Regions from separate parts of the Homo sapiens genome. Here all the other regions are linked to region 3. Evidence: promoter capture Hi-C in human tissues and cell types (Jung and others, 2019). All regions are on one chromosome and are shown on one strand. The core of a region is centred on a gene start or on the middle of the fragment in contact, and the rest is flanking DNA. Distances in the headings are between cores, read along the strand shown.

Evidence for each region. The method cuts DNA at HindIII sites, captures the fragments that hold promoters and counts their contacts. A contact is called where the count stands out against the background at its distance.
Region 1: a contact is called between a fragment that was not itself captured here and the fragment with the promoter of UBIAD1 in region 3, in 7 of the 25 tissues and cell types used here (H1 embryonic stem cells, IMR-90 fibroblasts, dorsolateral prefrontal cortex and 4 more).
Region 2: a contact is called between a fragment that was not itself captured here and the fragment with the promoter of UBIAD1 in region 3, in 4 of the 25 tissues and cell types used here (heart left ventricle, heart right ventricle, mesendoderm cells and 1 more).

What each region holds. Positions count from the first base shown.
Region 1 is chr1:11,376,818-11,379,649 of GRCh38, forward strand. It overlaps LOC105376740 (a long non-coding RNA gene), which reads left to right. Exons shown (of 4, transcript XR_946959.3): 4 at 470-719. Among named protein-coding and RNA genes, the nearest start is that of DISP3, 100 kb to the right of the region's middle. The HindIII fragment of the contact is 5,798 bases long and covers 1-2,832 here.
Region 2 is chr1:11,151,028-11,154,199 of GRCh38, forward strand. All of the region lies in intron 30 of MTOR (mechanistic target of rapamycin kinase), which reads right to left. It also overlaps the pseudogene RNU6-537P. Among named protein-coding and RNA genes, the nearest start is that of MTOR-AS1, 8.7 kb to the left of the region's middle. The HindIII fragment of the contact is 5,912 bases long and covers 1-3,172 here.
Region 3 is chr1:11,271,787-11,274,553 of GRCh38, forward strand. UBIAD1 (UbiA prenyltransferase domain containing 1) reads left to right here and starts at 1,412. Exons shown (of 2, transcript NM_013319.3): 1 at 1,412-2,274. The coding sequence starts at 1,746. RefSeq lists silencers at 991-1,260, 1,321-1,370 and enhancers at 1,371-1,540, 1,631-1,680. The HindIII fragment of the contact is 12,769 bases long and covers 1-2,767 here.

The DNA of each region.
Region 1 (2,832 bases), core at 4-2,503, 100 kb after region 3:
CCACACACCTCACAGGAACTCCTAGAAGAAGGGAGGCTGTCAGGTACCCCTGACCTCTTTCCTGAGCTGTTCAGGACTCGCTGGCTCACTCGGGGCAGGTGAATCCCGCTAACCCACCAACTGGCCTCACTTCTCCCTTCCACGGAGTAATAGCAGCCTCCACCTCCCAGGTCCATCTGTGCACTTGAACCCCTGGATTTCAGGCCCGGTGTTCCTCAGAGATGGCTGCTCCTTATGTGCCCTGGGCCTGGGCTGATAAACCAGAACCCATGGGTACCTCCCAACTCACTCCCTTTTGCTGCCAACTAAATTAGCTCCTGTGGGCATTCCTCCACCCCCAGCCCAAGAACAAACAGCAAATTAATGAAACAGATGGGCTCTGTCTGCTCTGCTGGCTCTCAGCACTCCCATATTCAGGGCAGGGCTGAGACTGGACTAAATCATTTCTCCTTTGCTCCTGGGCACACAGCTAGACTACATTGCTAGCCTCCCTTGTAGACAGCGACCTTGGGCCACTTGGCTGAGTTCTGGCCAGCGGAATGTGGGTAGAAGTGATGACTGGCGTGCCCACACCTGGCCTGTGACACCTCCTACGCAACATCCCGTCTGCCGCCCTGTTTTCTGCCAGCCGAATGAAGAGGATCCAACAGAGAACTCCGAGGCCCTAGGAGACTGGGGAGGACAAGTTGGAAGGAAGCTTTATTTGTTATTTTATTAAAATTATTATTATTATTATTTCAAGACAGGGTCCTGCACTGTTGCCCAGGCTGGAGTGCAGTGGTACAATTACAGTTCGTTGTAGCCTCCGACTCCTGGGCTCAAGTGATCCTCCGGCTTCAGCCTCTTGAGTAGCTGGGACTATAGGTGCATGCCACCACATCTAGCTAATTTAAAAAATACCCTGTAGAGTGAGCATCTCCCTATGTTGCCCAGGCTGGTCTCAATCCTGGCCTCAAGGATCCTGCTGCTTCAGCCTCCAGAGTGCCGGGATGACAGGTGTGAGCCACCGCACCCAGCCTAGAAGGAATCTTTAGAGAGTGAAAGACCTGGGTGGAAATCCCAGCTCAACCCCTCAAAGCTGTGTGATCCTGGGCAGGTCACTTACCTCTCTGAGCTCAGTTTCCTCGTCTATAGATAGAGGATAATGATAGTGCCATCCTTGTAAAGTTGTTTTGAGAATCAAATAGGATTCTTTGATTTGAAACAGCTCTGAAAGTTCATCGGAGCCCCAGGGCTCCCTGCAGTATTGTCTGGGCCCTTTGTAGCCACCGCATCACAGTTCAATTTCTCCCTCTGTCTAATTCTGCTCTTTTTCTCCTTTTCAGAAATCCCTACCGCTGAGTTCTGGTGGAAGGCAGTTAGTATTGGAAGAGGTCATGGGAAGCAGATTTTTCAATGGGATTTTTGAGTTGCGTTACTTGCTGGGTCCAGCAATGAGGCCCCCATCCCTGGGAGGTAGGGGTCTGTTGTGCTATAGCAGGGCAGTTGTTAAAACTCTCAGTCATGGTGAACTGGGATGGAAAATCCACAGAAGGGAATGCATTGGCAGATATATCTCAGCCATTTGAGAGATTTGGGGGAAGTAATCATTATAAAAACTGTGGAGTCAGATAGTGATTGCTGGCCAGGCACAGTGGCTCACCCCTCTGTAATTCCAGCACTTTGTGAGGCCACGATGGGAGGATCATTTGAGGGCAGAAGTTCAAGACCAGCCTGGGCAACCTAGCAAGATCCTGCCTCTACAAAAAAACGCAACCCAACCCAAACCAACTAAACAAACGAAAAACCATCCAAGAATGCCTGAAGACATTTCTGTTGTCATAATTGTGGGGGAGGGGGATGGCATGGCTATTGGTACCCAGGAGGTAGAGGTCAGCGATGCTGTTAAAAATCCTATGATGCGACCGGGCGCGGTGGCTCACGCCTGTAATCCCAACACTTTGGGAGGCCGAGGCAAGCAGATCACCTGCGGTCAGGAGTTCGAGACCAGCCTGGCCAACATGGCTAAATCCCATCTCTACTAAAAATACAAAAATTAACTGGGCATAGTGGCGGGTGCCTGTCATCCCAGCACTTTGGGAGACCAAGCTGGGTGGATCACCTGAGGTCAAGAGTTGGAGACCAGCCTGGCCAACATGGTGAAACCCCATCTCTACCAAAAATACAAAAATTAGCTGGGCATGGTGGCGGGTGCCTGTAATCCCAGCTACTCAGGAGGCTGAGGCAGGGAGAATCACTTGAACCCGGGAAGCAGAGGTTGCAGTGAGCCAAGACTGTGCCACTGCACTCCAGCCTGGATGACAGAGGGAAACGCTGTCTCAAAAAAAAAAAAAAAAAAAAATCCTACAGCTCCTACGACAAAGAATTATGTGGCCCAAAATGTGAATAGTGCCAAGGTGGTGGCGTGCATCTGTAGTCCCAGCTACTTGGGAGGCTGAGGAAAGAGGATCGCTTGAGCCCAAGAAGTCAAGTTTGCAGTGGGTGGTGAGCATACCACTGCACTCCAGCCTGAGTGACAGAGCAAGACCCTGTCTCAAAAAATAAAAGTAAAAAAGGGAAAAAAAAACCAGATAGTGATTGCTGGGGGCCTTCAGTGCATTGGAAGAAGACCATGTAAAGCTGGGGTGATTAATCACCGATTTAAGTGAGGTGTGAGATCCAGAGGCCCTCCTTGGCAGCATATATCAAGAGACTCTCATCTTCTGCAGCTCGCAGACAGAAAAACCTGAGGATCGGGCCCACAACTTAATTATAAGTGGAGCTACAGAGAAGGCTGAATTCTCGACTCTGGCAAGTCTGCTAGTCCAAGGTCAGAGCCTTGATTGGAAAGAG
Region 2 (3,172 bases), core at 466-2,965, 120 kb before region 3:
TTTAACTTGGCACTGGAGGTGGAGTCATGAGGAAGGGCACAAGTTCTAAGTGGCCCAGGTCAGAAGCCTCATGGAACATGAGCTGCTCTGCGCTCTAAGGTGGTGTAGGAGGGCGGGGATAAAGATGCTGAAGTCAATCCCTGCAGAAGGAATCTAGGCTGAGCTCACCAAGAAGCTGACTGTGGACCACGTCTAGGAGAGGTACTCAGGGCCATTATCCAGCATCGCAGTACAGCAGATATTAACTTTGTTGTCTCTCTGGCACATGATCAAGAAAACCAGGGACACAAGCACTCTGGCTCAATACAGAGCTGAGACCAAAAAGAGGAACTGGTGGCCATGATGCCCTATGCATTTACTGAAGCTCCATTAAGGGAACAGGATAAACCTCTGTGTTGGTTTTCTGCCACCGAGACTTAGAAATCTTCACTCCTGGGCCCTGCTAGGGGTTCCCTTAGAGCAGTAGTTCTCAAACTACTAAGTGCATCAGAATCCCCTGGAAGGCTCCTTCAGATGGCTGGGCTCCACCCTCTGAGTTTCTGACTCAGTAGTGCTGGGATAGGGGCTGAGAATGTGCATTTGTAACAAGTTTCTATGTGACGCCAAAACTGCTGGACCAGGGGTCACAGTTTGAGAACCACTGGCTTAAAGCAGAGGCACAGCTCATCTGCACAGCATATTTTTGTAGGGATCCTGACTAGAGGTAGAAGAGAAAGCTGCATGATCTCCAAATGGTCCTTCCAACCCTATAGTTCAAAATTTACAGCTGGTGAACACAAGCAACTTGGATGAATGCATCCTTCATGCAAGCTGTCCCTCCTAACTCAGCCTCCCTCTATTATTTTTTCAGGATCAGCTGATTCTGTGCCACAGGACCAAGGATGTAGTTTTTCTTTTCATCTAGAGCAGGAAGCAAGTTCAGTGCTGAAATCCCACAAATTGTTACCCCAAGAGACAAAGCAGGGAGCAATGTAGGAACAGCAACTCAGAAGGGCAAGCCCTAGCAGTGAACTTCGCACGGCCTTCACCATGCAGCTGTGTGGGAACAGCTGTCAGAGCTTGGTCAGTACACAGACAAGAGCATTGCTCTTCCACAAACATTTGTTACAAAAAATAATGCAGAATATACCGAGTCCTACCTCTCAAGGGCGGTTGGGTGAGGGGCAAAACCAAATAAATAAAAAACATGAGATTGTTTATGGGGCAACAACTAGGATATGTTTTTCTGATACCTTTCACTACACATAGGGAGGACTGGGTAAAAGGTGCACCCTCTGAGACTTTGATTTTCTCACCTAGCGTTCTGGCAAAAAACGCAGAAAGTGCTTGCTTTGGCAGCACATATACTAAAATTGGAACGATACAGAGAAGATAGCATGGTCCCTGAAGATTTAAAACAAATAAAAAGCTTAGGAAGTATTCTTTCATTTGGAATGGCTCCATGGCTCCTCTTAGGGTTGAGGGCCTATGATCTCACTCCCGAGGAATCTGTTCTCAATACCTAGCTGTGTGGGGAACAGTTTGAGGAGGGGGTTCACTTTAGTTCACTTTGGCTGCAGGCGTGGCTGCCTGCACCATAGGGCTGGGCAGGGCAGGGGGTGCGGGTTGCCTAGCTCTCACAGCCTCCTGGAGGCAGATAAGAATGGGGAAATGGGAAGGGTCTCAGCTCACTGTTAACTCCAGATCATTCTTCATGTCACCTCTGATGAACATCTGCCTCAGGCATATTCAGGATATACGCACACAAAAGAAATTTAGAAATTGCACTCTAAACAGAATTGACTGAATAAACCGTATCAGAAACCTGCATATGATCAGGAAAAATATTCTGCTTCTTTCGACTCGTTTTAAAACCTCTTTTAGTCTCCCACATTCTTAAATCCTTTGGTCAGCATTACTAGCCACTTACGCTTTATGGGTAACTATAAAACGGGAAAGAACCCAAGAGGTCAGAGGTATTTGGGACTGAGAACGGCAACATCAGGAGATCGATATCACTCAGCTCGGTTTTCTCAACTTCTGTGAGCCTCAGTTTCTTCAACTATAACACAAAGGAATTGGAGGAAACCACATCTCAAGTCTCTTCCAATGTATCCAATCTGCTCCTACTAACCCAGCTAGGAAAAGTGGTCATCTTTAATGTGAAAGGAGAGGAGTGGAAGGGGAAGGGGCCAGGAGAGGTTTCAAGAGGGAAGAAACAGTGGAGAGGATTTCAAAAGTAGAAAAAGAGGCAGAAGAAGAGGGCAATTCAAAGAATGGAACGAATGAATGTAGGACTTGGAGAAGAGTGAATAATTTGGCCAGAGCTCAGATTATGAGAGAAGGGTTCACAGAGAAATGTGCTGAAGAAGCGGGCTGGTGCCATAATAGGAAAGACTTTGAATGCCAGGCTGTGATATTTATATGTAAATCCAATGGCAACAGTGAAACATTGCAGTATTTTAGGAATTGATTAGAGTTGAATTTTAAGAACACTTCCATCTCGTTTTATCTTTCTCATAACAAGATATGATTGTATGACAGCTGATATGAAACTAGAAAAATTGTTTTTGAAATAATGTGAATAATTCTTATTAACATACTTTTCTTTTGCCTTAGATCAGTGTTGTCCAATAGAGCTTTCTGTGATGATGGAAAAGTTCTCTATGTGCACTGTCCAATACAGCAGCCACTGGCCACATGTGGCTACTGAACACCTAAAATGTGGTATGACTGAGGAACTGAATTTCACATTTTATTTAATTTAAAAATAGCCATAAGGCCGGATGCAGTGGCTCACACCCGTAATCCTAGACCTTTGAGAGGCTGAGGCAGGTGGATTTCTTGAGGTTGGGAGTTCAAGACCAGCCTGGCCAACATGGCGAAACCCCATCTCCATTAAAAATACAAAAATCAGCCGGGAGTGGTGGTGCATGCCTGTAATCCCAGCTACTCAGGAGGCTGGGGCAGGAAAATCACTTGACCCTGGGAGGTGAAGGTTGCAGTGAGCCGAAATCACAGCACTGCACTCCAGCCTGGGTGACAGAGTGAGACTCTGTCTCAAAAAAAAAAAAAAAAAAAAAAAAAAAAAAAAAAAGCCACATGTGGCTAGAGGCTACCATATTGGACAATACAGCTTTAGATACTTGTTGGACTGAGAAAAACAACAACAACAACAACAACAACAACAACA
Region 3 (2,767 bases), core at 162-2,661:
GCTTCCCTATGGTCCCAATTGATCAATGAGCATAGTTCAGACATGAATGTTGGTTGATATTTTATGTTAGGAGTAAGAGGAAAGTGAAACAATCAAAAGAGATATGTCAGAACTTCACTAGTTTGTCAAGGCTACAAGCGACTTATTTGTTCAACTGGATAATAATTTGCCAATGCTGAACGAATATTTCCTCAAAGTTTTGGTGCATTCACTTACACACTTTTTTTCTCTCTTTTTTTTCTTTTTTGAGACGGAGTCTCGCTCTACTGCCCAGGCTGGAGTGCAGTGGCGTGATCTTGGCTCACTGCAGCCTCTGCCTCCAGGGTTCAAGCAATTCTCCTGCCTCAGCCTCCCGAGTAGCTGTGATTACAGGAATGCACCACCACCCCCGGCTAATTTTTTTTTTTTTTTTGAGATGGAGTCTCACTCTGTTGCCCAGGCTGGAGCCCATTGGCATGATCTTGGCTCACTGCAACCTCCATCTCCCGGGTTCAAGCAATTCTCCTGCCCCAGCCTCCCGAGTAGCTGGGATTACAGGTGCCTGCCACCACGCACGGCTAATTTTTGTATTTTTAGTAGAGACAGGGTTTCGCTATGTTGGCCAGGCTGATGTCGAACTCCTGACATCAAGTGATCCGCCTGCCTCGGCCTTCCAAAGTGCTGGGATTACAGGCGTGAGCCACCGCACCCTCCAACACTTTTAAGTTTAACCAGTAATATGAACATTTTCTCCGCCACTTTCTTAAGTCTAGACGACTTAGCAGTTATTAAGCATTTGCTGATTTGCGTGGTGTAAATTCTCCCACCATGGGCAGATTTCAAGCTGCTGAAGGATGTCACTGAATGAAAAGCTGATAAGAGGTGAGCAGTAGCACATCATAGAGTATTTCCACGGTGCAGATATGATAGACGTCAGAATGTATGCACACAGCAGGCGCTCAATAAATGCTTGTAGCATGAATAAATTAATGAATCCTACTTCGTGAATGAAAGTGCGCCCGGTAAGTCCTAAAGCAACACGCCTTCGAGTTCTTATGATGCTAAGAGAGGCTGATTGCAGTTAGTCTGGAAGTAGCTGCGGGGCGCAGTGCAGGCAGGAAAAGGGCTGGATGCCGGGTCACCGCCCGGCCCCAGCTCCTGGCCCGTCCCCGCTCCCGGTCCATTCCCGCCCCGGCCCCGCCCCCTCCCGCCCCACCACCGGTCTGGCCCCGCCCCTCAGCCCCGCCCCACCCCTCACCGCCCTTCTCCCCGCCTCTGACCCCGCCCCTCCTCTGACTCGGCCCTGCCCGCCCCGCCTCTGACCAGGCCCCCGCCCCCCACCCCTCACCGCCCTTCTCCCCGCCTCTGGCTCGGCCCCGCCCCCTCCCGCCCTCCAGCCCACCCTCCGGTCCAGCCCGCGCCGCCGGCACCTGTTTCCGGGCGGGCCTCCAGAGGCCGGCGCACAAGATGGCGGCTCTGGCGGCCTAAAGAAGGCGGCCGCGGCTCAGCCGTGGGCTCTAACGCGGGGCTGGGGGCCGGAGACAGACTTCGCCCAGGTGACGGGTAGTAGGGGCGGCGCCGCTTGGCCTCGTGGGGTGTAAGACCCACTTGCTGTTGCCCCCGGACCTTGCCGCCACACCAGCCCTGTCCTGGGGCGGAACCGAAGGAAGGTCGGGCCCTGCTGCCCCGCCCCGTCCTTCCTCCTTCCCGGGCGGTCACTGTGCGTGGCTCACTTTTAGAGTTTACTTCAACCACGTGGAGCTTCCATGGCGGCCTCTCAGGTCCTGGGGGAGAAGATTAACATCCTGTCGGGAGAGACTGTCAAAGCTGGGGACAGGGACCCGCTGGGGAACGACTGTCCCGAGCAAGATAGGCTCCCCCAGCGCTCCTGGAGGCAGAAGTGTGCCTCCTACGTGTTGGCCCTGAGGCCCTGGAGCTTCAGTGCCTCACTCACACCGGTGGCCCTGGGCAGTGCCCTTGCCTACAGATCCCACGGTGTCCTGGATCCCAGGCTCTTGGTGGGTTGTGCCGTGGCTGTCCTGGCTGTGCACGGGGCCGGTAATTTGGTCAACACTTACTATGACTTTTCCAAGGGCATTGACCACAAAAAGAGTGATGACAGGACACTTGTGGACCGAATCTTGGAGCCGCAGGATGTCGTCCGGTTCGGAGTCTTCCTCTACACGTTGGGCTGCGTCTGTGCCGCTTGCCTCTACTACCTGTCCCCTCTGAAACTGGAGCACTTGGCTCTTATCTACTTTGGAGGCCTGTCTGGCTCCTTTCTCTACACAGGAGGTAAGATTTGGCCTGTCCTGTGTGCTGCAGGTCTTAGTCGCGTCCACTGGAAACCGCTGCTTTGTAAAGGAGTTATAGGGATGTCAAAGGTGGCTTTCTAATTTAAGCCGCTTTAATTGAAGTCTATAATTGTGGGTGATGTGAATTTTTTGAAACAGTGATTTGAGAAGATCCTGGTTTGACTTACGGACGTAGGGCATGACTGAAAATTTTATATGGACATTTATTTTTATTTATTTTTTATGTATTCATTTTTGAGACGGAGTCTCGCTCTGTCGCCCAGGCTGGAGTGCAGTGGTGCGATCTCGGCCCACTGCAGCCTCTGCCTCCCGTGTTCAAGCGATTCTCCTGCCTCAGCCTCCCGAGTAGCTGGGACTACAGGTGCACGCCACCACGCCTGGCTGATTTTTGTATTTTTATTAGAGACGGGGTGTCACCATGTTGGCCAGGATGGTCTCGATTTCCTGACCTCGTGATCCACCCGCCTCAGCCT